7 separate regions of the Homo sapiens genome follow, and regions 1, 2, 3, 4, 6 and 7 are each linked to region 5. The links are contacts of gene promoters, found by promoter capture Hi-C in blood cells and fetal thymus (Javierre and others, 2016). All regions are on one chromosome and are shown on one strand. The core of a region is centred on a gene start or on the middle of the fragment in contact, and the rest is flanking DNA. Distances in the headings are between cores, read along the strand shown.

Region 1 (4,053 bases), core at 1,298-3,797, 1.9 Mb after region 5:
ATGTTCTTAAATGATCAATGGGAAAATGAAGCAAGAAGGAAATTTAAAAATTCATGAAAGGAATGAAAATGTAAACAAACATCCCAAAATCTATGGGATACAGAAAAAGCAGCATTAAAAGTGAAGATTATAGCAATAAATGCCTACTTCAAAAGAGTAGAACAAGTTCAAATAAACAATGATACATCTCAGTAAACTAGAAGACAACCAACCAAATCCAAAATTAGTAGAAGGAATGAAATAATACCAGAGCAGAAATAATGAAATTGAAACTTTAAAAAATACAAAAGATTAACAAAAAGTTGTTTTTTTGCAGAGATAAAAAAATTGAAAAACGTTTAGCTAGACTAAGAATAAAAAGAGGGAAGACCCAAATAAATATAATCAGAAAGAAAAAAAAGAACACATAACAACTGATACCACAGAAATTCAATGGATCATCAACAGCTATATGCCAACAAATTCGAAAAGCTAAAAGAAATGAATAAATTCCTGGACACATACAACCTGCCAAGATTAAACCAGGAAGAAATAGAAAACTCAAACAGATCAATAACAAATAATGAGATTAAGGCAGTCATAAAGCATCTCCCATCAAAGAAAAGCCCAGGACATGATGGCTTCACTGCTGAATTCCACCAAATATTTAAAGAACTACTTATAACACCAATTATACTCAAACTATTCAAAAAAATGAAGAAGAGGTAATATGTGCAAATTCACTCTACAAGGCCAGCATTGCCCTTACACCAAAACCAGATAAGGACACAATGAAAAGAAAACTACAAGCCAATATCCCTGATGAACACAGATGTAAACGTCCTCAACAAAACACTGGAAAACAAATTCAATGACACAATAAAAAGATCATTCACCATGATCAAATAATCAATGTCATCCCAGGGATGCAAAGATGGTTCAACATATGCAAATCAATAAACATGATACATCAGATTAACAGAATCAAGGACAAAAACCATACGATCATTTCCACAGATGTTTTAAAAGGATTCAACACAATTCAACATTCTTTTATGATAAAAACTCTCAACAAATTGGGTACAGAAGGAACACACCTCAAAACAAAAATGGCCATACGTAACAAACCCACAGCTAACATACTGCTTGGGGGGAAATTGAAAGACATTTCTCTAAGATCTGGAATAAGACAAGGATGCACAAATTTACCACTTTTTTTCAACATAACATTTGAAGTTCTAGCCACAGCAATTAGACAAGAGAAAGAAATAAAGGGCATCCAAATTGGAAAGGAAGAAGACAAATCATTCTTGTTCATAGATGACATGACATTACATTTAGAAAAGCCTAAAGATTCCAACAAAAAACACTGAGAACTGATAAGTGAATTCAGTAAAGTTGCAGGATACAAAATTAACATATAAAAATCCATAGCATTTATATGCAAAGAATCTGAAAAAGTAATCAAGGCACCAACATCATTTACAATAGACACAAGGAATATAAAATACCTAGAAATAAATTAAACCAGAGATGCAAAAAATCTCTACAAAGAAAACTATTAAACATTGATGAAAGTCAATGAAGAAGACACACAAAAAAAGAAACACGCCTATACTCATGGGTTAGAAGAATTAATATTGTTAAAATGTCAATACTACCCAAAGTGGTCTATAGATTCAATGCAATCTCTATCAAAAACCAGTAACATTCTTCACAAAACTTGAAAAAACAATGCAAAAATTCATGTGGAGCCATAAAAGACCCAAAATAACCAAAACAATCCGAACTGGACAAAAAGAACAAAGCTGGAGGCATCACACTACTTGACTTCAAAATATACTACAAAGCCATAGTAATTAAAACAGCATGGTACTAGCATAAAAACAGACACATAGAGCAGTGGAACAGAATACAGAACCCAGAAATAAATCCACACATTTACAGCCAACTCATTTTTTTAATTTTTATTTTACTTTAAAGTTCTGGGATACATGTGCAGAATGTGCAGGTTTGTTACATAGGTATACATGTGCCATGGTGGTTTGCTGCATCTATCAGCCAACCGTCTAGGTTTTAAGCCCGGCATGCATTGGGTATTTGTCCTAATACTCTCCCTCCCCTTGCTCCCCACCCGACAGGCCCTGATGTGTGATGTTTCCCTTCCTGTATCAATGTGTTCTCATTGTTCAACTCCCACTTATGAGTGAGAACATGCAGTGTTTGGTTTTCTGTTCCTGTGTTAGTTTGCTGAGAATGATGGTTTCCAGCTTCATCCATGTCCCTGCAAAGGACATGAACTCATTCTTTTTTATGGCTGCATAGTATTCCATGGTGTATACATGCCACATTTTCTTTATCCAGTCTATCACTGATGGGTATTTGGGTTGGTTCCAAAATCTCATGCCAGTTAGAATGGCGATCATTAAAAAGTCAGGAAACAACAGATGCGGTAGAGGATGTGGAGAAATGGGAATGCTTTTACACTGTTGGTGGGAGTGTAAATTAGTTCAACTATTGTGGAAGACAGTGTGGCAATTCCTCAAGGATCTAGAACCAGAAATACCATTTGACCCAGCAATCCCATTACTGAGTATATACCCAAATGATTATAAATCATTCTACTGTAAAGACACATGCACACGAATGTTTATTGCAGCACTATTTACAATACCAACTCATTTTTGACAAAGACACCAAGAACCTATATTGGGGAAAGGACAGTCTCTTCAAAAAATGGTGCTGGGAAAACTGAAAAACCATATGCAGAAGAACAAAGCTAGACCCCTATCGCTCACTATATACAAAAATCAAATCAAAATGGAGTAAAGACTTAAGTCTAACACCTGAAACTATGAAACTATTAGAAGCAAAAACTGGGGAAATGCTTCAAGACATTGGTCCGGGCAAAAATTTTTTTAGTAAGACTTTGAAAGCACAGGTCACAAAAGCAAAAATTTTCTGCATTGCAAAGGAAGCAATCGGCAAAGTGAAAAGATAACCTATGAAAAGGCCAAAAATATTTGCAAACTATCCATCCAACAATCAATTAATAAGCAGCATATATAAGGAACTCAAACAACTTAACAGCAAAAAATAAAAACCATCCAGTTTTAAAATGGGCAAAAGAGTTGAATAAACATTTCTCAAAAGAAGACATACAAATGACCAACAGGTATATGAAAAAATGCTCAGCATCACTAATCAACAGGGAAATGCAAGTCAAAACCACACTGAGATATCATCTCACCCCAGTCAAAATGGTTTTTATCAAAAAGACAAAAAATAACAGATGCTGGCAAGAATGTGGAGAAAGGAGAACACTCATACATCATTGGGGGAATGTAGATTAGTACAGCCACTGTGGAAAACAATACAGTGGTCCTTCAAAAACTAAAACTAAAAGGACCAAATGATCCAGCAATCCCATTGCTGGATATCTATCCAGAAGAAAGGAAACCAGAATATCAAGGAGATAACTATACTCCCATGTTTATTGCAGCCATATTTACAGCAGCCAAGATATGGGAACAACGTAAGTGTCCATCACTGGATGAATGGATAAAGCAAATGTGGTACATATATATATATAATGGAATATTATTCAGTCATAAAAAAGAATAAAATCCTGTCATTTGCAGCAATACGGATGTAACTGAAGGTCATTATGTTAACTGAAATAAGCCAGGCACAGAATAAATACTGCATGCTCTCATTCATATGTGAGAGCTTAGAAAAGTAGATTTCATACTGGTAGAAAGTTGATTGGTGGTTACCAGGGGCTAGGAAGGGTTGGGAGGAGGGAGAGATGAACAGAGGTTAATAGTTTAAAAAAATGCAGTTAGAGAGAAGAAATATGAGGTAGTGTTCAATAGTATGGTACGGTAACTATAGTTAACAATAATTTAGTTTTAGTTCAAAATAGCTAGAGAAGAGGAATCACAATATTCCCAACATAAAGAAAGGGTGAATGTTTGGGGTGATCGATGTTGCAACTGTCCTGGTTTGATCATTACACATTGTATATATGTATCAAAATATCACATGTACCCCAAAGATATGCACAACTATTAT
Region 2 (4,287 bases), core at 959-3,458, 1.9 Mb after region 5:
TGGATTTTTTTTTTTCTTCATTTCAAAAAAAGTTTTGGCATTTACGGAAGGCTTCTTAAACTTCTTCCATGGTTTGACATCATTGACTCAGATAAAGGCCTAGGAAGCCATTCCTCCTATTCAGGATCTAAAAAAGCAGCAGTTCACATTTATAACGCATTACAACCAGAACTTGAGGCCTAAGAAATTTCTATGTCGAGTCCACAGTTTCAAACGCAAATTCACTCATCAAGGCTTTGTTCAGGCATCAGGGAAACATCCTGGCAGCAAGTATACCTATATAAGGAAATATTAGGTCACGATCCCATAACTCCAACACACAAGAGATGCACCACACACTTTAGGAGACTTCCAAAGCAGAAAAACACAAGAGACTAGGGAGAATGACCTCTCTTCCTAGTTTATGCCTTCAAGGTATTAAATGTACTATTCATCCCCAAAAGAAGAAATGCATATAAAAACTCAGATCACCATAATATGCAGTGTAACATAAAAATTAATATCTGGAAAGCAAATTTATTTTCACCACCTAAAAGACATTTAACCTTTAATTAAAATAATAGGCCTGGCATGGTAGCTCACACCTGTAATCCCAGCACTTTTAGAGGCTGAGGCAGGGGACTGCCTGAGCTCAGGAGTTCAAGACCAACCTGGGCAACATGGCAAAACCCTGTCTCTACACACACAAAAAAAAAAAAAAAACACAAAAATTAGCTGGCTGTGGTGATCCCAGGTACTGGGGAGGCTAAGACATGAGAATCACTTGAACCTGGGAAGCACAGGTTGCAGTAAGCCGAGATTGCACCACTGTACTTCAGCTTGGGTGACAGAGCGAGACTCTCTCTTAATAATAATAATAATAATAATAATAATAATAATAATAATAACAATAATAATAATAATAATAATAATAATAAAGCTGCCTGGAAACCATTAATTCCATAGTAACTTTGGTAACTGGGGCCAGAAGGAACAGAAGCAATATAATTCCAATAGTATCCAGCTTTTTCCAGCCTTCCTGCCACAGGGTCTTTGCACATGGCAGTCCTTCTGTTCAGAGGCAAACACATTCTTCTGTCCTCCACTAAGTTAACTCCTACTCATCCTTCATATCTCAGGGCAAATATTACTGCCTCAGAGAAGCACTCTCTACTCACTAGCTAAAATCCCAAATTTTAGTCTTTTCTTCTTGGTACTCTCTAGAACTGCCTTTTTATACTCTCGTGAGAATTCCCTATCAAACTGGAGCTCCGTGAGGGCAAAGATCAGGCCTCTTCTCTCAGTATTGTTTCTCATCTCTAGCCCTTAACAGAGCAAGTTCAAAGCACTCAACAAATACTTGCTGAATCAATGAATGGATTTGAACACCTAAACTTAATCAGGCTATCCCATTTCCTTTACCTAATAAATTTGGTTTTGCAATCACAGTTTCCACCTTGCAGTGAAATTTTTAACCAAAGATACTTTCCTAGACATTGACCCAATTCACAACTACTGCTTTCACTAAGGAACATCCCCAGCCCCCATCAAACCTTCTAAGAAAGGGCAGGGCAGCATGGTTTGCTATGTAGTTCAGCCACCCATGGCTAATTCAAGCCAAGCCAAGGGAACTTTCCTCTTCCTGCAACTTAGAATTGAGAATGAGAAACAGCTAATAATTCCAGAATTAGCTGTCAAGGGAGAAATATATAAATTTAGGAGGTATGAGGTGGCCAGCTTTTCCTCATCCATGCAGGGGGTACAAAGAAAGCCAGACTTCACAGAGACAAGAGTGACACAGATGCACACAAAACAGAAATAAGACTAGAAGAGGATGATCCAGGTCCCTGAAGGTCATTCTATTTTTAGTTCCAAGACTTTCCTTGGCCTGCCTTTGTGCCTTCCCTTGAATTCCTCAAGAACTCCTACAGCTATTTCACTTAAAAAAAAAAAAAATTCTTATCTTTGCTTGGCCTCGCTGGAGTTCTGTATTGATCTAAATAGAATTAGCCCATTTCATAGATAGGAAGAAATGAGCCCCCAGAAATTACCTTCCCAAAGTTACAAAGCTAATTAGTTGTAGAGCTGGGCTTTATACCCAAGCCTTCTGAGACAAGGGAAACTCTGTCTATGCTACCCAATTAGTAGCTACTAACCACACATGACTATTTAAATTTAAATTTAACTAGGTAAAATTTAAAATCAAGTTCATCAGTTCCAGGAACGATATATCAAGTGCTCAATAGCTCCATATGGTAATATTGTCATATTGGACAGTACCGTTCTAGAACATTTATTTCTACTACTGCAGAAAGTTATATTGAATAGCACTAGATCCTTGAAGGATAAGCCCTCTCTATTTGTAAAATCTGAAACAAACTGCAAAAGCTGACTTTGGCTGATACCAAACACAGTGGAACACACTGGAAGGAGGGCAGATCTTGCCAACCCAAGGCTTGGGTTCTTGTCCTCACTGTTTACATCCTTTCAGTGGGCAAATCATTAGACCTCTCTGAACCTCAAGCTCTTTATCTGAAAATAGATTTGGAAATAACTACCAGGGTCCGTCCAATGTTCAAATGAGGCATGGTATAGTGAAGGGCTCTGTAAATTGCACCTGTACTAACAATAGTTGTTATCATTAATAACAGCAGCAGTTAAAATCATTTCTAGAGCCTATATAAGAACTCTGCTGTAAGAATTTTCAATGCATTAACTCATTTAATCCCCTCTAATGTACTTTGAGGCAGTTGCTATCAGTATCCCCATTTTACAAAGAAGGATATGTGGAGGCAGAGAGGTGATGTGATTTGTCCAAGGTCAGCTACCAAGTGGCAAAGCTAGAATATGAAGCCAGGTTCCCAAGTCTGCCCTCTTAACCATCGGGCAACTCTGTCTTTCTAAGATCTCAAAGCAGGTATTCCACAATCAATGCATTCACTCTTCCCTCTCTTTTACCCATACCACCATTTTCTTTCAGATAATACCTATATCATTCACTTTTTTTTTTGGAGACAGGGTCTTGTTCTGTTGTTCAGGCTGGACTGCAGTGGCATGATCATGGCTCACTGCAGCCTTGAACTCCCAGGACCAAGTGATCCTCCCACCTCAGCCTCCAGAATAGCTGAGACTACAGGCACATGCTAGCATGCCTGAAAAACTTTTGCATTTTTTGTAAAGACATGGTTTCACCATGTTTCCCAGGCTGGTCTCGAATTCCTGGGCTCAAGCAATCCACCTACCACAGGCTCCCAAAGTGCTAGGATTACAGTCATGAGCCACTGTGTCCAGCCTCATTCATATTTTGTATGCACACTCTAGTTACAACCTTGTCTTTTGGTCTTCCTCTATTAACATGTTTCCCTTATATGTATATATTTTTGTACATGGGTATGAGAAACAACCAGAACCTTATCAGACATGAAAACACTTGACATCCAAACAAGAAGCAGGCCTGTTCATCCTACAATATTATGCAAAGTAGCAATCAGCAAACAGATCCTGCTTGAGAAAACCTGACAACCCAAGTTAGTAAAATCACTTTCCAAAGTATTTTCAATCTAATAAGTAATTTCAGACATCATTGGTTCTCCCAATCAATGGCCATTTCTATAATAGACGAAAGGAACTGAAAAAATTAAAAAAAATCAGGGACAGGACTCTGGAGAGCATCCCAGCACCCTCCCTCTTCTTGTTAACATTTATCTGTCCTGTAACAATGGCAGGCACAGTGCTAGCCAATGCTTTTACTCAACCAATGTCTTCCTTCCTAGCATCTCTTGGTAGTCAGAAGCTGGAGCAAAGGGTCGCCCACCCACCTAGAAAACAGGAGCTTCAGCATAGGCTATAAAGCAACTGCCAGCCTCGAGAATGGGATTCTGAACCTGGGGTCCTTGCACAGAATCAGGGGTCCATAAACCGGGATGAGAAAAAAAAATGACATCTTAATATTTATGAGCCTCTATTTGAAATTCATCTGTTCCTTCAATTATAAACGTCAGCAACAAACCATTTAGCAGTTCCTATGACTTGGCCGCAAATAGAAATCATAGGTACTTTCAAATCTCATTAAAGTTTATCAGCAAGACCTCAAAATGTGTGTCCATCAACAACCTCATAATTATATGTAGTTAACAGGCTTGCTTGAAGATCATGTTGTTAAATGAATACAGAAGCACACATATTCTATATCATAAAATGTTTTAATGTTTTGATCACTACATTTCCATATAATGGCTTCCTTTGAAAGCCAGTGAATTTTGTTTAATGTGGGTTTTTTAAACTTTCATTTTAGGTTCAGAGGTGTAT
Region 3 (4,017 bases), core at 335-2,834, 2.0 Mb after region 5:
CCTAAAGTGTAGTCTTTTATCCCTCACCCCCCTCCTGCCCTTCCCCCTGAGTCCCCAAAGTCCACTGTATCATCCTTATGCCTTTGCATCCTCATAGCTTAGCTCCTACTTATAAGCAAGAACATACGATGTTTGGTTTTCCATTTCTGAGTTACTTCACTTAGAATAATGGTCTCCAACTCCAACCAGGTTTCTGTGAATGCCATTATATTGTTCATTTTTATGGTTAAGTCCCTACATCTTATTACTCCACTTTTCAATGCTCCTGTGTCATTTACCTATAAAATCTGAATTCCAATGATGATAATGGCAATGATGATTATTTAGATTATTTAAATTTTTTCATCACTTTGATGTTATGTTATCTTGAACTATCTCCTATAATCCTTGTATCACCACTATGATGTCTAAGTATCTCATTTACAGAAGAGGAAACTGAGACTTAGAGAAGTCAAATGATTTTTCTGAGGTTCTATAATTAATCATGTTTTCCAAAGATATTCTGATAAGGCTGGATCAAAAAACTAAACTGGGATCAATCTGTCAAAATCACCTTTCCGTACACTAAAATATTTATGAATAAAATGATATGTCATTGAGAATTTCCTTCAGAATAATCCAGTGCAGGAGGGAGTGGAGTATAGATAAAATAAGAGTGACCATATATTGATGACTTGTGAGTGAGTGATGGGTATGTGGGCGCCCATTGTACTATTCACTCTACTTTTGCGTATCTTGGAAGCTAACCATATAAAAAGGTTTTGGGATTTTTTTGTTTTGTTTTGTTTTGAGACAGAATCTCATTCTATCACCCAGGCTGGAGTGCAGTGGTGCAATCATGGCTCAGTGCAGCCTTGACTTCTCGGGCCCGTGGATCCTCTCTGCTCAGCCTCCTGAGTAGCTGGGACTGTAGTCATGCCAACATGCCCGGCTAATTTTTTCATATTTTTTGTAGAGATGGGGTTTTGCCACGTTTCCCAGGCTGGTCTCGAACTCCCAGGCTCAAGCAATCTGCTCACTTTGGCCTCCCAAAGTGTTGGGATTACAAGAGCAATCCACTGTGCCTGGCCCCTAAAAAGGTTTTTTAATGTCATCTTTTTTATGCAATTACAAACAATCCAAGTCCACTGATCAGTATTGCTATTCAATGTTTGTAGATAATTTTGAAAATGTTTCATTATGTGTCTAGGTTATAAATATCTAACATAAGAAGAGCACTTCAGCTTTAAATACAAAGGTCCCATTTTTGTCACACAAGTTTTTTTTTTTTGTTCTAAACCTCTATGATATGCATTGCATACTTACCTTAGTGGAAGAAACAATTACCCAAGCACTGTGTCCAACTGCATGGTGTTATCTTTTAATTAACCTGTGTAGCCCTTTTTACTTAACCTAGTTTGAGAAGTGACAGCCACTGAGCTGTCTAAATAATGTACGCCACTGCTCTTTTATTTGATCTATTCAATCAAAAACAATAGTTCCTGGTGTGTGGTCCAGCCCTGTAGAGCTAGATATACTTTCTATTCAGTCATGATCCTTGTCTTGTACATCAGCGTTGAAACTTGCCTTGCTAACCAGAGTATTTAGAATTGTTTCAATATAGGAAACCAGATTGATCCCATATGTGAAATCTTTTCCATATTTCACACAATATTTTGTGTAAAAGCTATTCTGCTACTCTGCGTCCATCAACTTAGAATATCCAGTGAATAAGGGGGGGGTAATTGGATGCTCACATTTCTGCTGAGGGGTTAGATTAAAAGTGCCACATTGGCTGGGTGTAGTGGCTCACGCCTGTAATCCCAACACTTTGGGAGGCCAAGGCGGGAGGAACACCTGACATCAGAAGGTCGAGAGCAGTCTGACCGACATGGTGAAACCCCATCTCTACTAAAAATATAAAAATTAGCCAGGCATGGTGGTGCATGCCTGTAGTCTCAGCTACTCAGGAGGCTGAGGCAGGAGAATTACTTGGACCCAGGAAGTAGAGGTTGCAGTAAGCTGAGATCACACCACTGCACTCCAACCTAAGTGACAGAGTGAGACTCTATCTCTCAAAAAAAAAAAAAAAAAAAAAAGTGCCACATTTCTGGATGGAAATTTAAATTTATCAATATGTGATCAAATCCCTAAGAGTGTGCATGCCCTGGAACCCAGTAGTGCCATATCTAGGAATTTATCCTAAGGAAGTAACTGGACAGATGCACAAAGATTTTTATGCAAGGATATTGAGGGCAGTTGTTTTTTTAATAGTAAATACAAAGAGTCTAACTGTCCAACAATATGGGATTGGCTTAATGAAATTATCCACAGAAATTTAAAATGTTGATGCAAATAATTGTATGGTAGTGGAGAGGTATTCATTAAATCCTGTTAGTAAACAGGTTATCCACAATATGCATTTAATGAATATATTATTATACATATACACAAACACACACCCACATATATATAGCCTCACATGAAAGAAGTTACCTCTACATACATATATGTGTGTAAAATTTGTGTAAATGTATGTGTTTAAGGGAGTGTTGTGGAGGGGTGTGTGTGCACAGCTTAAGTCAGGATGGAGAAATATGGTATCCTTTAGGTGATTTTTTTTCTAGCAGTATTTTTATATATTTCTATAATGGAATACTACTACAAGTAGTAGCTACATACGAAATAAAAAGGAACAAAAATAACAGATAAAACCTATTCTGTCTAAATGTGTTTCAAGTGTTCAGATAAAAGGCAAGTGAAACAACCTAGAGAAGATGTAAAAAACCTTTTGGGAGCATTGTTTCAATAAAGAAAAGCCTTTCCATATTAATTATTGAGTAGAAATGATGGAAAAGGTAATGGGGAAAGAAGCAGAGAGGAGTGAAGAGCCACCCTACAATTGGTGATAATTTCCCAAGCTGGGCCTGGGAGTTATAAGTGAGATGTGCTCCCCTCACCAACCAAACCAGTGAAATATTATAGCACATTTTTCTCTCCCTTTTTCGGAGTGCCAGAGTTTTTTGGAGTTCCTGTAACAGACCAGGTTTTACTTGCTGATCCTTAACAGAAATTATTTTAAGGTAGGTCTTCCTAAACTATGGCCCAGGGAGTGGGGGGTTCAATGTCTTGCCCAAGGTCATATAGCAGGCAATCTGTGAGCTGAGATGCCCTTCACCAAGGGCATGCCCTGAGATGCCGTTCGGGGCTCTCCATTTGCAAAGAGAAGAACCCAGGAAAGTGCAAAGAAAGTCATTGTCACTGTTACAGTGACCAAGACAACACCTTGGTAATGTCTGGATAGAATTCTCTGAAAAATGGGGACAATCTGAGTTGTACAGGCAGCAACTGAGGGACATTTTTAGGAACCAGAAGTAAGCATTTGTGATTGTAAATTATTCAGGCTAGATATTTACAATGAGCAATTTAGCTTCAGGCCAATATTAACTTCCATTCCTATTACTATCAGATTAATTGCATTTTGTTGCTTTTTCTAAATACATGTCAAATCAGGAAACCTATAATTCAGCAGTTAGTCATTAAAGTAGCAGTGGATCTGCAACTGTGTTATCTGAAGCCCTTCTAAAAAATAAAATAAAAATCCAGGGCTTCTTTTTTTGGTCTAATAAACAGAGCATTAATAAAAAGCAACTAGGATATTCTTCCTAGGATGAAATATGTCTAAATTGAAAAAGGCTTCAGATAAAAGAAATCAAGGCAAATAAACAAAAGATGATTGAAAGAAGTTGGATAAATTTGCATCTTAAATAATGCATCTATAGAATCATAGAAAATACAGTTGCAAATTGTCATTTCAAGATTATACAAACCATTTTATACATTTTATATACATAGTAGTTACAAAAATAAGTTGGACTTAAAGTGGAGTTAGTATTATCTGACACATTTCAAATACTTAAGTACTAAAACATCATATTTCCTATGCATTACAGAAATTATATGAAAATGTGTATGTGTGTATCTCTCTTCATTTTTCATTGTTCTTCATGATCTCATGCCTTTACATGCAGCTAATAT
Region 4 (3,850 bases), core at 1-2,500, 1.1 Mb after region 5:
CTTATATTGTTGTTATAAGCATTGAGCAAGATAATTTAGAAAATGCATTTAAGAGAGTTCCCAGTACATAATAACAGCTCAAAAACATTGACTATTATTGCAACATAACAATAATGATCTTTATTTTGTGATGATCTCAGTTTATAAGGTGTTCTCACATATGGGTGTTTAAGCTTGAATCAATTCTGTAAGATCATTTTCCCCTTCTCTCCCTTACCATTTCCCAGATAGACACATAGAGTCCTGGGGAGGATAATGAATGTTCACAAGATCTCTGAGTTATTAATAGACATAGCTGAGATTGACTTCTCAGTTCTTCACTGCTGAGTCAATTTTGAAAATATAATAAGTTTCTAAATTCCAGAGGTAAAGAAAAAAATGTTCTTAAAACGATACACAAAGCCACACACATTTAGTAATGTCTCTCAGAAAACAACTGGCTGCTGCTTGTTGAACAGAGTTGTATACTGATACCTGTTTTCAGACGTGTAAAAGCTATAGTTTTATTATTTTTAAATGAATAGTCCATAGAAAAAGGCTTGTATAACGTTTTCTATGGCTGCTGTATCTTTGGGTTCAGTCCATAACTATTTACAAAGATGAGCTCTGGTGGCAAGGCAAAAAAGGGTTGTAAATTGGGAGGTTTCAGGATCAGAAGCCACCCAGTGATTGCTGAAGATGAGACCAAATTGTGGAGATATTTGCTATTATATATAAAATTCCCACATGATAATGAGTAATAAGTTATTTTTTCTATCACTTTCATGGTATAAATGATATCAAAGCACTTCTTTACTGCCTCTTCAAACTTTCTCCAGGAGCTGAGAAGACATATTGGAGAAAATTTGTGTGAACAGCCTGGAGAAGAAGACCATACAATTGGAGGACTATGACTTATATGTCATTTATAATAATAGTAGCAATAGCAAATGCTCGTTGGGTGCATGGAAAGTGCCAGGCACAGCACTAATCACACACTAATCACACACACGCATGCACACACACACACACACCAGAAATGTTATATATATATGAAACATTTGTTCCTTATAACAACCCTGGAAAGTAGATTCTATTATTTGAATGCGTAGATGAGGAAACTGAGACAGAAAGGCTAAGTAACCTCCTCAAGGTCACAGAGTTAGTAAATGGCAGAGATGGGAATTGAGCTCAGGGAGCCAGGCTGCACAGCCTATATTCTACCTACTAATAAGCTACCCTGGAAGGAACAGTACCCATCTCTGAGAGAGCAGAACACAGGACAGGTGGGTTTTGAGAGCAAGAGGGGGAATGCTGGGTAGAGAGTGCAGATGCAGGTAAGGGACCACAGCAGTATCTTGACCTCTACAGTAAGAAAGGGGCACTCAGTGTGTGTCTGCACAATGACAGAGGGGCCTGGGATATAGGGAGCCAATAATGAATAGTCTTTATCTAGTCCACAGTTTAGCCAAGGGCCAGCCCTAGCTAAATGAATTAAAGAATCAGAGAAAATAAGATCTTTTGTAAAAGTGTGCTTGTTTGATTTACTGACTCATTTGGGAATTATTAACCCAAGTGCCAGGGTGGAATGAGCATAATTGTTTTTACTTAGAAGAGCACCTAAGCCTAAATTGCTGGGTGCAAATAAATCTATTCCTGGGAGGCAGCTGGGGAGCCCCCGCAGGCTTGTTCCTGGCCTCCTCCTCTGGGGGCTAGAGGAGCCAGCTAAGCACACGGCATTCTTTAGGCTGAAGTGAGAATTTACTCCTGAATGCTAAAGGGGCTTGCTCCATGTATAATCAAGGCTTACTGAAGGAAAAAAAAAACACACACACACGCACAAAAAACTGGGAAGGAAAATTTATTTTTGATGCCTCCATATTTTTCTCTGACTTATGTGCCTCATCACCTCAAAAGTCCACCATTGCAACTGTGTGTGTGTGTGTGTGTTTGTGTGTGTGTGTGTGTGTCTTTCAGAATCTCCTTTTTCCCTCTGGGGATGTCAACTTCCTAAATTGCCAGTGCCCTCACAATTTTTCACAATCCCTGTCTTCCTCAGCCTTCTCCTGTGGCACCACCTCCACACAGCAGCTTCAATTACATGGTTTCCATGGGTAGAAACAAGCAAAGGCAGACACTGGCCATAAAACTGACTGATGCAACTTCAAGTTAGCCTGGGGCAGATATTTTTAAAGAACATTGTTTTAGGCCATAACACTTTACCTTGACGGAGTGAAACTAGGCCGGTAGAATTTCAGGCAGAGAAGCGGACAGGTGTGTGGACTATTCTAGACCAGCAAATGAGATGGTGGGTCCTTCTCCAGAAATCCTTGCATCATGTTTTTACAGTAAGCTTCTTGTTTGCTTATGCATAACATTACTCTGGCCCCTGTGAATGTGGAGAAACTGGCCTCCATGTCTCTTGGGTCAGTCTCTGTTGAGCTGTGGGTCTTTGTCATGGATGTCACGTACATATACCTTAGAGAAAAGATAAAAGAGTTGGAGGGGTGGGCTTGAGAAAGGCTGTATAATTTTATTGAGCAATATTTCTTCTTTAAATGGGCTCATGGATAATTCAATTAGCTGGCTTTTGATTGCTCTTGTTAGTGGTTAGGCGCTATATAATGAAAATATGGATTTGTTCAAGTCTCACCATCACAAACCAGCTTGTCAGGATGGATGATTCAACAGATCCACAGTGGGTGTGACATAGGTTCAAGTGTGTACTGACCATATTCCTCTTTAGCGTGTGTGTACTCTCTTTCTTGCTGGCTCTCTCTGGATCTCTTTCTCAGCTTTGTTTGGAGATGGAGCTAACAGTTGTAGAAAATAAATATCTGCCTAAACCGAGTGGACAGCAGCCAATGAGAATACTGTGAAACTTCCCCGTGGAAAGCTCCATGACATGGCATATGCGAGTCTGTCTCTCTCATTGATGCTATATGCAGACGGTATATATCAGCTAGAAGACTTTGAAAAGGAGATTTATTAAGTGTCAGGTTGAGAGTTGTGTTTTCATCTTGATTATGAAAATGATATATAATTTTAAAAACAATTATGGTGCTTGATAAATTTCTCTGTTTGTATAAACTTCCCATTTCAGGAATTCTACATGTAATTCAGTCTGTGTGTCCTGAGAGAAGTCCTGAGAAAGGAGACCGAGTGCATTCAGCATGCTAGAATGATTTCTCCATGAGAACAGGTTAAAAGGCATAGTGGGAATCAGTGCAGGGATACAAGGTCTGAGTAGGAATGGCATATACATCCTCAGAATTAAAGAGGGTACAGGCAGGATGAAAATACACTTGTTTATCACATCACTGAAAGCTGGGAAGGGGGATTTGCTTGAAGCTTGAAAGCAGTGATTTAAGACCAGAATCACAGGTGCATTTTGCATAGGTCATAAGCACTATTGATCATGTGCAGTGTCTTGAAAGGGAAGTAGATTCCAAAAAAGAGCAGATATGTACATGAAGAATAAAACTGTAGTTGACGATTAAAGGTACATTATGAACACTCAAGAAATGTCTCTATTTTTGAGGATGAGGTCATCTTTCTCCACAAAACACCCTTCAGGAAAGGAGGGGGAGGTTGAACCACTGGTGCAGCATGGTTTCTCTCTTTTTGTGTGCCCTGAATATATCACATTTATCCCTCATCAAAGAGAAATTTTTCTTTTTATTGGGAAATGTAGAAGTGATACCTCAAACGATATGGTTTTTGTTTCCAAAGACATGGTAGGGGGTTCAATGCTTCCAAAAAACATATACTAGACATAAGTATGTGGTATTTTATTTTAGATGCTATCAGTTGATCTTTTGCTACTACATTTCTAACAGCCAAAACCTCTTAGTGACTATCACTTATTTTT
Region 5 (4,060 bases), core at 1,298-3,797:
TTTGCTTGTGATTCCTAGGTAAAAAAAAATATTAAAATAATAAAGCTCTAAGTGTCTAATTTGAACTAAATATAGGACCTTCAAATATTCTGGTTCAGTTTTTCAGTTTCCATCCTTAATTGATTTTACTTTAAACTTTAAATATAGGAGTAAATTGCAATATAGTACTTAATACCTTAAGATGAAAACTGGTTTACTTTTGCTGCTCTTTCCAGATGTGCAGTAGATTCAGGAGGTTTTTACTAAAATTCAAATTAGAGGTGTTTGAAAACAAAGCTGTAACCTTTGGCTATTTAGTATCAATCCTGAAAAGGAATCTCCCCAGTATTCTTACAGATCATTGAGAAAGAATTGTTGTGGTACAACTGACTGAATTTCGAGATCCTCCTACATATTCTGTGTTTTTTAAAAATGCATTTTAGTGATGATTAAATCTTTACTATGTAATGCCATCTGCCCAGTAGAATGGAGTCCATTTACAGTGTCATATAAATGGCAACTTTTTACCTATAATTTTTTTTCTATTTATTTTTAGATTGGCTTTTGTTCTTTGTATTCTGCTGCATCTCCAATTTATAAATCTTTGTGGGTCAAAGAATCAGAACACTGTCTTCTCACTAATCAAACAATATTGTCAAGTCTGTTTGTTACTAAGTTGAGAATTGAATTTTTAAAAAATTGGCCAAGTTTCTTAAGGCTTAAATAGATAGATGGCTACAAAACAACAACAAAGCACAAACAAAACTCCTCTATTTTAACAGATTTGAAAAGGTTGCCAGATAAAATACAGAACACCCAATTAAATTTAAATTTCAGATAAACAACAAATGATATTTCAGTTTAAATATTTCTCAAATAATGCATGCCCTGTATTTTTATTTGCAATATCGTCAGATGTTGTCAAACCCTAAGGATTAACGCCATTTTTTTCCTCAATACTAACCATATTGTCATAAAGTGCTACCATTTTAATAAATTAGAAAGCAACATCATAAAAACGAAAAAATAAAGTTATGAGTAACCAAAATTAAGTCAATTTCATCTATCCAGAAACGTGCATACAGGACATTCACAAAGAAGAAATTATAAGTGCATATGTATATGCAGAAACCCCAGTCATGAGGAAACACCACTTCCTGTTAACTTGCATGGGATTATAGTATTTTAAGTTCTAAATTTCTCAGCAGACCTAGAAGACAGAACTGAATTGTTTTTCATAATTATTTCTCTTTCTCAATCACAATTTAAATTCCAAGATCCTTTCTTTATCAAGAAGTTCAACGGTTTGATCTTTTCAGTGCTAGAAAAGTTATGCACACGGGCTAACTATATGTCTACTAGAAATTCTTCCCATTCGCTGATACTTCCTTACATTTTAACATCTAGAAATAGCATTCCCAATGTTAGCTCATTTGCACCTTACATTTATTTTTAAAATATGAAACATCTATAATGTGCCAGGCACCCCGTTAGATGTTAGAAACACAAGATGAGTAAATAAAAATTCGTCAACAGTAAAATTTTGATTTTCTTTCCAAAAGGTTGCAGCCTATGAAATCCATGGAGTACGGATTACTATTACTTCACGTTACAGATGAAGGATCTAAGCGCTCAGGGGTTGAAAGGTCTTATGTCAGTTCTCACATATAGTGACTAAAGAGCCAGGGCTTCAGTAATCATCCCTGGCTCCGGGCTCAGGGCATTCCGGTATTTTTTCAAAGGAAATTCCGGAATACTTAGTATTGTATCCCCTCCATTTCCCAAGAGCAAAAAGTAAAGCATCTTGGATCCCCTTGTAATGTTCACGTGAGGAACAGGTGTTCTCTGGGTGTGCTAGAAAAGCAAGGCACCAGTGGGAGTTGAAGATCCTAAGCAGCCGCTGTAACCAGACCAAGTTAATCTGTGGAAACCAGAGCACCCGGCCAAGGCGATGCTATTTCAATTGGGTGTCATAGGTGACTCATCAGAGACGCCTTGCTTTTGGGCCTTGTGATATTTTTCTTCAGGGTGGGACGTCAGATTTCCTTTGCATTTTTGGACAACAGCCCTCCTGTCCATTTCCACATTTTTCTGGTTTTACAGCTCTCACGCAGAGCTTGATTTCATACCGGAAGCTAGTCACTGGCAGGAAGTTTACGGAAGAAGAAAAAGGTAAAAAAATGTGCCGGGGGCCAGGAGAGAGGCCTAAAATGGGGAAATTCGCACTTGAAGAGCTTTCCCTACCCCAGCCCCTCAGAATGACAGTTCTCCTCCGCCAGAAGACTACCTCTCCCGGCAGGCACTGCGCGCTCGACGGCCACAGGCTGGCCAGCTCCCTGCTCTCCACCTCCATCCGAATCAGCCAATAGGAATTCCCGGCTTGGGCCTCCGCCCGACCCGGACCACGCGGGAGCCGGGGCAATCAAACTACATTTCCCGACACGCATGTGCTCGCGTCGTGGCCAATCAGCGCCAGGAATTCGGAGGCTAGGGGTGGAGCCAGATGCACAGGACACCCCATTGGCCAGGGGAAGCTTAGAAGAGCCGGAACCCGGGAGCTAGAGAAGCGAAATGACATTTCCTTTTTAAATAGCTGGAGTCGGGGCCCCATCGAGAAATGGCCGCGTCGGCAGGTGGGTCGTGTGGTGGCCAGGGCGGCGTGGAGGGAGGTGAGGGGGAAGGTGGGCCGGGGCCGGCCACAGGCAGTGGGATGAGGACGTAGCGGTGCGGAGCTAGAGGGAAGGATGAAGCGGTGGAGGGGAATGAGAAGAGGGAGGATGAATGGTGCGGAGGGCGGTGGGCGGTCCGGCGGGACCGGGATGGGGAGGCTGGGTACCCGCCGGCGCTGCGCCCCAGGAGGCAGCGGGAGGCGGCTTGAGGGGGCACCGGCGGCCGCCGTTGTTCGAGCTTCCCTCGTGAGGCTCTGCCCTCGGCTCTCGGCGGAGTCCGCGCAGACGCCTCTCCTGGGCTGCGAGCGCGTTTCCTCCGCGAGCACGGGTGCCGGGCTCGCCGGGCTCCGCAGGAGCAGGCTGGCCTTTGAACTTGTTCCGCCGATCGCGCTCCGCCCTCTGTCTCCCAGATCCTTAACTCGCGGTCCCACGAGGTCGTGCGTATATCCACAGACATTTGTATATATCTTGTAGGGGGAAAAAGCCTAGCAAGCAGACACACAAACAGAAAAATCCCGCGATGCCGTAACTGGCTCGGCACTTCTTGTAGTTGTACGATTTTTCTCCTCCTAGATTTAAGTAAGTCTTCCCCAACACCGAATGGGATTCCATCTTCAGACCCAGCCAGCGATGCCATGGACCCCTTCCATGCTTGCAGTATTCTTAAGCAACTCAAAACAATGTACGATGAAGGACAGTTGACAGACATTGTAGTGGAAGTGGATCACGGGAAAACATTTTCCTGTCATAGAAACGTTCTTGCTGCAATCAGCCCTTACTTCAGGTATGATGATGGTAGGAACTTCTGTTGGTATCTGCACCAAGCTCCCTTTCCCCCTCAGTATTGTCCACTTGATGTTTATATTGAGATGCGATAATGAAATGAAACCAATGACTTTGTTTCTTGAGACTAGAAAACAAGTCCTCTCTTAACTAAGACCTTCTTTTGACTTGAGGGATTCTTCTAGATTTCGGGTGATTGCTTTTTAAGTTAGTGGGCCTGTGTGTGTGTGTTTGAGGTAAATGACCAGAAAATCTAGACTTGTGCTGGTCAGTATGGAAGCCAGTAGCCATGTGTGGCTGTTTAAACTTAAATTATAAGTTAAATAAAATAAAACATTTAGTTCCCCAGGTACACTAAATACTTTTTGAGTGCTTGCTGGTCACCTGCAGCTAGTGGCTGCCATATTGGGCAGCACAGAAATACAGCATTTTCATCATTGACAATTTTATTGGACAGTGCTGATCTAGAATTTCTTTCAAAAAGTTATCCATAATGCATGTTTCTTTAGTGTATGGGACTCTTTTATAAAATAGTTTAAAACATGTAGCATGTTCCTTCAAAAACAAATTACCACTCAATAGATTGTTTAAATGCTATGGGGGTCAAAGCAAGAATGAATATAGTTTCT
Region 6 (4,202 bases), core at 193-2,692, 2.0 Mb after region 5:
GGAGGACAGGAGGAAGCACATTCTTGTAATATCCCTTAGCTTCTCTTTTATAGGTTTTTGACACCTGGTTTCAGATGACTCCAGGTCAGAAAATGTTTTTGGGTTTTGTTTTGGGGCAGTCTTGCTCTGTCGCCCAGGCGGGAGTGCAGTGACATGATCTTGGCTCACTGCAGCCTCTGCCTCCTGGGTTCAAGCGATTCTCATGCCCCAGCCTCCTGAGTAGCTGGGACTACAGGCACATGCCACCTCGTCCAGCTAATTTTTGTATTTTTTGCAGAGATGGGGTTTTGCCATGTTGGCCAGGCTGGTCTTGAAATCCTGGACTCAAGTGATCCACCTGCCTTGGCCTCCCCAGAAAATGTTAACACAAAAACATGGTCTCCTGATTATTTCTGTTTCTGAAAAGGTGGTATCGATTTTTATTAGGGAAGAAAACTCAAGCCCACCTCAGAATCCGCAGTGTATCCATTACCTTAGGTCCTTCTTGTGTGATGTTTAGTCTGTGTAGTACATGCTGGGCAAATGCCCTGAATAGTCCAGTATTTTGACAGCCAGATATCTAAAATAAAAACACTGGTTCATATTACAATGAATACTTCTGTATTATAATTTAAGATACTGTCAACTTATGTATAAATGTTATGTCTGTAAATATGAATGCTAATGGTAGACAATGTGCTTACCAGAGGAGTATTATAGAACAGCCCATACCTCATGCGGGGGAGTAATGAAAAAACAGCTTCTTTAAAACATACCTAAGAACAAAGATACATTAAAAGAAGATGTAATTTGCACCCTTCACACCAAAAATAGCACGTATAATTTTGAGAAATAGATTTTAATTAATCTCCATTTTGCATTGCTTGAATAGCACACTATTTCATTCAAAGAGAACAGAATTCATATTTTTGGAAAGATTATAGAAAAAACTTTTCAAAGGCTGCATGATTAACAACACTGAGGATTCTAATTATAAAAGAAATTCAGAAATTCAGAAATCAGTGGTAATGGCTAATAGGAACTCATAATAAATGTTTATTTTATGAGTGAGTCATCTGCACTCAAGAAATATTCACAGACATTTCAGGAAAATTTCCAGTACCCTTTTGGAATCATAAGTTTTCAAATGTATAACGTCATAATCAGTAAATGCATTCCATGTGTCGGAGAATAGGTCACCATATCCGTAAGAACTCTGAAAGTAGAAACAAAACAAGGTTTTAGGGCAATAAAAGGATATAACATGACTTTTCAAAGATGCAACAAAATACCTGAATTTGCCTGTGTTAAAAACTAACAATCCTACGCAAGTTCATAAAATCCATACAAGCAAAATGGATCTTCATCTTGGGCCAGAGCAAATGCCTAATTTGATGAAATATCATCAGAAATAATTATCACAATTATACTCTTAGCCATTAATAGTGTTTCATTTTTCTACCTTAACTTCTTTTATTCTCACATCTTTGTAGTTCAGGGCTTTTTCCTGTGAACATCTTATCCAAATTATAGATACACACAACACACACTATGCCACCGTTTACACACACTCTTATGCTCAGTGTGCAAAAACCATCAGGGTGAATGAAAAATCTTTGGAAAAAAATTTCAGAGCAAGAAAATGGGTTCAAAGTTTTAACACTGGCTGGGTGCGGTGGCTCACAGCTGTAATCCCAGCACTTTGGGAGGCCGAGGCGGGCAGATCACCTGAGGTCAGGAGTTTGAGACCAGCCTGACCAATATGATGAAACCCCATCTCTACTAAAAATACAAAAATTAGCCAGGCATGGTGGCATGTGCTTATAATCCCAGCTACTCGGGAGGCTGAGACAGGAGAATCACTTGAACCTGGGAGGCGGGGGTTGCAGTGAGCCGAGATCATGCCATTGCACTCCAGCCTGGGCAACAAGAGCGAAACTCCATCTCAAAAAAAAAAAAAAAAAAAAAAGAAAGGTTTAACATTAAAAATATAGGCTGGTCACAGTGGCTCATGCTTGTAATTCCAGCGCTTTGGGAGGCAAAGTGGGAGGATCACTTGAGCCTTGAAGTTTAAGGCTGCAGTGAGCTATGATCATGCCATATACTCCAGCCTGGGCAACAGAGCAAGACCTTGTCTCTAATAAAATAAAATAAAATAAAAATATATAACATATGTAATTCTATGAAATATCCCCCCACCCATTGACTAGTGAATAAAAAGTGGTAATTTCCCATTAATATTAATGGTGTCAATAACAACTTTATATAATAATAATAGCATCTTACATACTTCCTATGTTCCAGGCAGTTTTTTTGGGCACTTGATATTATTAATGTACATTAAGCCACCCACAAGCCTAATGAGTTGATAATATCATTTTCTCTATTTTGCAGATGAGGAAACTGAGACACAATTTTAAGTCATTTGCCTACATTGCGAAGCAGCTGAGTTATAGAGCTGGTATTCAACCCAGCCTGTGCTGCCACTTCCATCTGACAGCTGCCTTTCAGCAGGAATTAGTTCTTTCCAGTATAATTACCACATGCTTTTTTTTTTTTTTTTTTTTTTGAGACTGAGTCTCACCCTGTTGCCCAGGCTAGAGTGCCATGTCGTGATCTGGGCTCACTGCAACCTCCACCTCCCAAGTTCAAGCAATTCTCCTGCCCCAGCCTCCCGAGTAGCTGGGATTACAGGCGCACGCCACCACACCCGGCTAATTTTTGTATCTTTTGATAGAGACAGGGTTTCACCATATTGGCCAGGCTGGTCTCAAACTCCTGAGCTCAAGTGCTCCGCCTACCACGGCCTCCTAAAGTGCTGAGATTACAGAAACCACACCCAGCCTGATTTATTTTTTGAAAAGTAGTTGATTATGAGCTCCATTAGCTAAGAAGATCAATTAATTTTTAAATGGTTTCACTTAGATTGAAAAATTCAGCCAATAGAAATCAGAAATATGCATTGTAGCACTACATTCAAGCTCTACAGTTATACATTATGTTCATGTCTCTTTTTTATAGCATTCTTTTCTCAGATTTTGAAAATTTTATGTTGCACATATTACAGTTATTTCAAAGTTATTGAGATCTGTTAGATGTGAAAAAAAAAAAAAAAAGCCTTCTTTCCATGTTCCTCCAATGCCATTCTAATAAAGGCCCTTCTCAACACCATCTAAAATGAAATGTCCCTGTTCTGGCTCAATAATAAATAAAGGGCAATTAAAAGAAGTGATTCTAGATGGTTTCCTGAGATAAAATACTTCAGATAAAATAAAATATGTTTGAAAGGAAATTTTAATAATAAAATACAGTAATCCTGACTGATCCTTCCTCAGGGAAGTCATACATTATTGAATAAGAACCACCTCCAAAAGCTTCTTTTCCATGTTTCCCAAGTCCAAATTATCCACCATTTGGGAAGGAGGCACTTCTTCCTATACTCATGTTGAAGAATATTTGGATAGTCTTCAAGATGACATAAAATTTCCTTTAGTGTGTCTCAAATTTAAACATGCACATAATCTATGACTTAGAAATTCCAATTATAGGAATCTGTCCTACAGAAATGCTAGGATGAGCATGTGAAGATATAGGTATATTGAAAGGACATATGTGTTTATGGTCACATTTCAGTAAATAGCACAGAACTGGAAACAAAACTAAATGTGATGGGGGGTGGAGTGGGAAATGAATACATGCACTGATGCATGCATCCAACTTCCAAAACATCCATTAAACAGAATACCACATAACATCTAAAGCAAGGATAGCCCTAAAGGTACTGACTTAAAAAGACATTCCACAGATAATACTAAGGTGGCAATATGAGACAGAGAATGTATTTTCCATAAGAATATAAACATATTGGCCAGGCTCATGGCTGTAATCCCAGTGCTTTGGGAGGCTGAGGTGGGAGGATCACTTGAGGCCAGGAGTTCAAGACTGTATTAGCCAGTTTTCACACTGCTGATAAAGACATACCCTGAGACTGGGAAGAAAAAGAAGTTTAACTGGACTTACAGTTCCACATGGCTGGGGAGGCCTCAGAACCATGGCGGGAGGTGAAAGACACTTCTTACATGGCAGCGGCAAGAGAAAATGAGGAAGAAGCAAAAGTGGAAAACCCTGATAAACCCATCAGATCTCATGAGACTTATTCACTATCACGAGAATAGCATAGGAAAGACTGGCCCTCATGATTCAATTACCTCCCCTTGGGTCCC
Region 7 (4,189 bases), core at 1,219-3,718, 1.9 Mb after region 5:
GAAGACTCACTAGAAATAACCACCCAAAACTTCTACATATATCTCCTATGGCTACCCTGGTGAAAGAGAGTCTGTAAAACATAGTCCTGATTCTGTACAGCTTGTGTCTTACTAGAAATCAGGGTTCCAATTACTAAGGTAGGGGGAAGAATAGATGTGACGTACGTAGCTAGCATCTCTTCCACCCTGTATTGCATATATCCATTTTGTATAGATGGACCACCAACAATTAAATAATTGAAAGAAATGTAGAAATGTCTCCAGCATGGGCCCTTTCATCACCTAAGGGAAACTTCCAGAAGATTCCACCCCAACCTCTTGGAGGGCAACTTTCACCCCTAGTGAGGAAACACTGATGTACTTCTCAGATTGGACATGGGGGTGTATTGCATATTTCCTCATCAGGTTAATGTAATGACAGATTTCAGATATAAACAGCACCTCAACTGCACTTACTATGAGACTGTGGTGGTTCTACAGTTTGAGTTTTTAGGGCTTTAAAATCTCACAGGTGTTTCTACATCATCCAAGCTCAAAGCAGAATCAGAGACCTCCCCCCCTGTGTGTCAGTGTGGAACAGACTGAAAGTTCCCAGGAACGACCGGGCATGGTGGCTCACACCTGTAATCCCAGCACTTTGGGAGGCCGAGGCAGGCAGATCACGAGGTCAGGAGCTCGAGACCAGCCTGACCAATATGGTGAAACCCCATCTCTACTACAAATACAAAAAATTAGCCGGGCGTGGTGGCACATTCCTGTAATCCCAGCTACTCGGGAGGCTGAGGCAGGAGAATCACTTGAACTCGAGAGGCAGAGGTTGCAGTGAGCTGAGATCGCGCCACTGCACTCCAGCCTGGACGACAGAGCGAGACTCTGTCTCAAAAAAAAAAAAAAAAAAAAGAAAGTTCCCAGGAACAATGGTATTTACCTAGAACCAAGTGGGAAGGTAGAAACCTAAGCTCTGAATTCAACACTTCTGAGTTTTCACTCTGACACCCAGTTTGTGGACGATCAGGACAAGTTGGTAGATGGCAACGTGGCTTCTGGCAGATCTTTAGGAGTAATGATAATGTGCGTTTATACAATGAGCTGTAGTTTTCGAAGCATTTTCACATAGTCATCAATTGGAAACTCCCATCAGTACTTTATAGCAGGCCAGATCTTTGTAGCTTTGAGTAGGTTAGGGATTTATTGCTTAAGGTTTTCTCTCATGAGACAACATTTGAGACTTAAATAATGAGAGGAAGCCAGACACACATACACACACACACACACACACACAAACACATTTCACATTCCAGGGAAAGGAAATCAGGTACAGAGCCACCGAACAAGGAAGGAACACATTCACTGTATGGTAAGAAATGAGAGATGGTCAGTGTGGTTACCTCAGAGGAAGGGGGAGAGGTCGCAAATGACACTGGAGAAAAAATCAGCGCACTGTCAACCGTCATCCTCTGACCCTACTTCTAATGTAACTTTTGCTTGTCCTACCTCCAGATAGATTTTCAACATGGGAATCTTATCCATCTTCTGCCTCTGTCATCCTCACTCAATCTACTTCTAAAAATGTCTTTCAAGAAACGAAAAAGAAGCTCTTGTTTTCATTGCAAGCTATGTCTAATTTTAAAATATATACAAAATTCCTAAATTATAAAACTTCATTTGATTTTTATTTGCTCGAGACAGGGTCTTGCTCTGTCACCCAAGCGGGAATGCACTGGTGCAATCACGGGTCACTGCAGCCTTGACCTCCTTGGTTCAAGCAATCCCCCCATCTCAGCCACCTAAGTAGCTGGCACTACATGCATGCATCTAACCATGCCTGCTTAATTTTTGTATTTTTTTGTACAGACATGGTTTCACCATGTTGCCCAGATTGGTCTCGAACTTCTGGGCTCAAGAAATCTGCCCACTTTGGCCTCCCAAAGTGCTGGGATCACAGGTGTGAGCCACCATGCCCAGCCTCTTCCATTTGCTTTAAAACCAGATTTTTATAAACTTTCTGTAACCAGCACTTTCAAATTGCAATTCACTTTGTTTTTTAAAAATACCATATACACAGACATATACAGCATCCTATTTCCTGTATACCAAGAGTAAACCTTCAAAATATCCCTCTGTAAGAACGAAATTCCAAACCCCTGCCATAGGATTCACACTTAGTAGGCCTTCAATTCTGTCACCTTCCCTGCAGCTTCCCAAGTCCACTGCTTCAACCAGTTAGGAAAAACAATTTTTAAAAAACATCTTGGCATCCATCAACCAGCATTTTCAAGGGCAAGAAAACAGCAGCGCCCAAGGAGCTGTCTGAGGTGCTTAAGGTTAATGGCTGTATTTACATAGCCATCAATTCACTTTACAAAGAACTGCCCCAGTAGGACTGTGCAGCTCCAGCAGGCAGCCCCCGTCAGGACAGAGCAGACAGGAGTCTCTAAACAAGGAGGAAAATGCCTGATAAATCTTAATGACATCGTCTTGTTTTCATTCACTTACTTATCACCTTATTTTCAGCTCAAGAGTCTCGAGCCCCTGATCGAACAAAATAGACTACACTTCCATTTCTCCATGAGTCACTCTCTAAAACTTTTTGGGACTGTAGTAAATTACAATGGCCTTACCTTTTATGATGATGCATACCTTGCACCAGCGCTGTCCGATCGGGCAGCCACTACACATACATGGCTATTTAAGTTTAAAGCTAAATTAATTAAAATTAAAGAAAATTTAAAATTTGCTTCTTGAGTCACATTAACCACATTTCAAGTACTCAAAAGTGACATGTTGCTTAGTGGCTCTCACGGTGAACAGCAAGAAGTTTGGAACATTTCCACCATCACAGGGAAGTTCTATTGAAACATACAGGAATTTGTAAGATTCTACTTACAGATTTTATTGATAATGTCTAGGACTTGACCTGTTCTGGAGTTAACATATCTGAATTCCAAGAGAACATAATGATAAGAGACTTTCTGCAGTCCCCACGTTTTCCAGACACATTCCCAAGCCACTAGTGCATTGGTGTTTTTAATGCTCTAAAACACACCCTCTGACCAGGCAATTACACTTCTACCCTAGAAAAATGCAAACACATGGGTACCAAGAGATTGTAATTATGAGAAGGCTTTAAACAGTAAACACCACATCTCAGTTAACACCATATATGACTTTGTTCAAGAATGGTATCATCATACTCTCTGTAGTAGAAAAAACTGGGAAAAATCTGAATGCCCATCTGTAGGGAAACAGCTAAATAAAATACAGTACATTCATAGTGGAACACTATATGGTAGTTAAAGGAATGAGTGAGACCTGTGTATGTATAAACGTGGATAATCTCCAAGACACCAGTAAGCAAAAAAATACAAACTATAGAATCAGATGTATAAAATGACACTACTTAAGTGAAAAAATTCACACACAAGACTGTATATTTAGTAACCATACATAACTAACATAAATAGCAAAGTTTAATATATTTTGATATTTTCACATTATACTTTTTAAATAAAGTTAAATGCCAAATATGCTTCCTATTTCTGTTGATTAGTTGGCATTGATACAAATCAACTTCAAATGATAAGAGAGAATCTACCAGGTCTTCATCAGTCCATTCTTCCTGCTCATGTTTGGATTTCTTTGAAACATAATGTATACTAAATATTTTAAATATGCGCAGAAGCCCAAACTCTTCATAGTATCTGAGAAGGGAGAGATAGAAATGGGTTGTAGAGAGAGTTAGAAGTGATTTTTACTTTTTCTCTAATTTTTTTTTTTTTTTTTTTTTTTACAACTTGTGTATTCCCTGCAGGAGTTCTACAAAGTCACTGTGACCCTGTATTATGACCAGTGGCACCACTATCCCCTACAATGCAGCCTAAGTGGCTGTAATAACACTAAGCAGCCATTCCCAGCCAGCAGACAGTACCACCCACACATGCCATGTTCTACAGTAAATCAAAGACTATGGTTTTCTAAAAGCAGATATTGTTCTTAAAAAAATTAGGACAATTTTGTTGTTTGGATGCTTCTGCTGTTTAGTCTTCCATAGAAGCCATCTCCAGCAGGGCCTTCGTCTGCCACTCAACTTGGAAACCTCATCTTCTAACTGTCTGGGGTTGAGTGCTGGGGGGACAAAGGCCAAAAGGGTCGGCAGCCAGGGAGGAGAACTGTAGCATCTTGACAGTTG

What was found. The method cuts DNA at HindIII sites, captures the fragments that hold promoters and counts their contacts. A CHiCAGO score of 5 or more calls a contact.
Region 1: a fragment that was not itself captured here is called in contact with the fragment with the promoter of KBTBD8 in region 5 in 7 of 17 cell types (naive CD4 T cells, total CD4 T cells, total B cells and 4 more); the score reaches 8.5 in naive CD4 T cells.
Region 2: a contact is called between a fragment that was not itself captured here and the fragment with the promoter of KBTBD8 in region 5, in 1 of 17 cell types (endothelial precursors). The highest score is 6.5, in endothelial precursors.
Region 3: a contact is called between a fragment that was not itself captured here and the fragment with the promoter of KBTBD8 in region 5, in 1 of 17 cell types (M1 macrophages). The highest score is 5.2, in M1 macrophages.
Region 4: a fragment that was not itself captured here is called in contact with the fragment with the promoter of KBTBD8 in region 5 in 5 of 17 cell types (naive CD4 T cells, activated CD4 T cells, total CD8 T cells and 2 more); the score reaches 9.2 in naive CD4 T cells.
Region 6: a fragment that was not itself captured here is called in contact with the fragment with the promoter of KBTBD8 in region 5 in 4 of 17 cell types (M0 macrophages, M2 macrophages, M1 macrophages and 1 more); the score reaches 13.8 in M0 macrophages.
Region 7: a fragment that was not itself captured here is called in contact with the fragment with the promoter of KBTBD8 in region 5 in 2 of 17 cell types (M0 macrophages and M1 macrophages); the score reaches 7.8 in M0 macrophages.

What each region holds. Positions count from the first base shown.
Region 1 is chr3:68,868,634-68,872,686 of GRCh38, forward strand. All of the region lies in intron 3 of TAFA4 (TAFA chemokine like family member 4), which reads right to left. Among named protein-coding and RNA genes, the nearest start is that of TAFA4, 62 kb to the right of the region's middle. The HindIII fragment of the contact is 7,699 bases long and covers 1-4,053 here.
Region 2 is chr3:68,899,396-68,903,682 of GRCh38, forward strand. The region is part of intron 1 of TAFA4 (TAFA chemokine like family member 4); the gene reads right to left. Among named protein-coding and RNA genes, the nearest start is that of TAFA4, 31 kb to the right of the region's middle. The HindIII fragment of the contact is 5,376 bases long and covers 1-4,287 here.
Region 3 is chr3:68,959,491-68,963,507 of GRCh38, forward strand. No RefSeq gene overlaps it. Among named protein-coding and RNA genes, the nearest start is that of TAFA4, 29 kb to the left of the region's middle. The HindIII fragment of the contact is 6,744 bases long and covers 1-4,017 here.
Region 4 is chr3:68,058,275-68,062,124 of GRCh38, forward strand. The region is part of intron 2 of TAFA1 (TAFA chemokine like family member 1); the gene reads left to right. Among named protein-coding and RNA genes, the nearest start is that of TAFA1, 56 kb to the left of the region's middle. The HindIII fragment of the contact is 2,159 bases long and covers 172-2,330 here.
Region 5 is chr3:66,995,760-66,999,819 of GRCh38, forward strand. KBTBD8 (kelch repeat and BTB domain containing 8) reads left to right here and starts at 2,548. Exons shown (of 4, transcript NM_032505.3): 1 at 2,548-2,612; 2 at 3,222-3,432. The coding sequence starts at 2,597. RefSeq lists an enhancer at 2,206-2,305 and a silencer at 2,646-2,965. The HindIII fragment of the contact is 2,180 bases long and covers 2,512-4,060 here.
Region 6 is chr3:68,987,823-68,992,024 of GRCh38, forward strand. It overlaps EOGT (EGF domain specific O-linked N-acetylglucosamine transferase), which reads right to left. Exons shown (of 18, transcript NM_001278689.2): 11 at 1,103-1,195; 12 at 684-755; 13 at 473-559. Among named protein-coding and RNA genes, the nearest start is that of EOGT-DT, 23 kb to the right of the region's middle. The HindIII fragment of the contact is 3,818 bases long and covers 1-3,351 here.
Region 7 is chr3:68,916,874-68,921,062 of GRCh38, forward strand. The region is part of intron 1 of TAFA4 (TAFA chemokine like family member 4); the gene reads right to left. Among named protein-coding and RNA genes, the nearest start is that of TAFA4, 14 kb to the right of the region's middle. RefSeq lists an enhancer at 2,073-2,675. The HindIII fragment of the contact is 5,451 bases long and covers 1-4,189 here.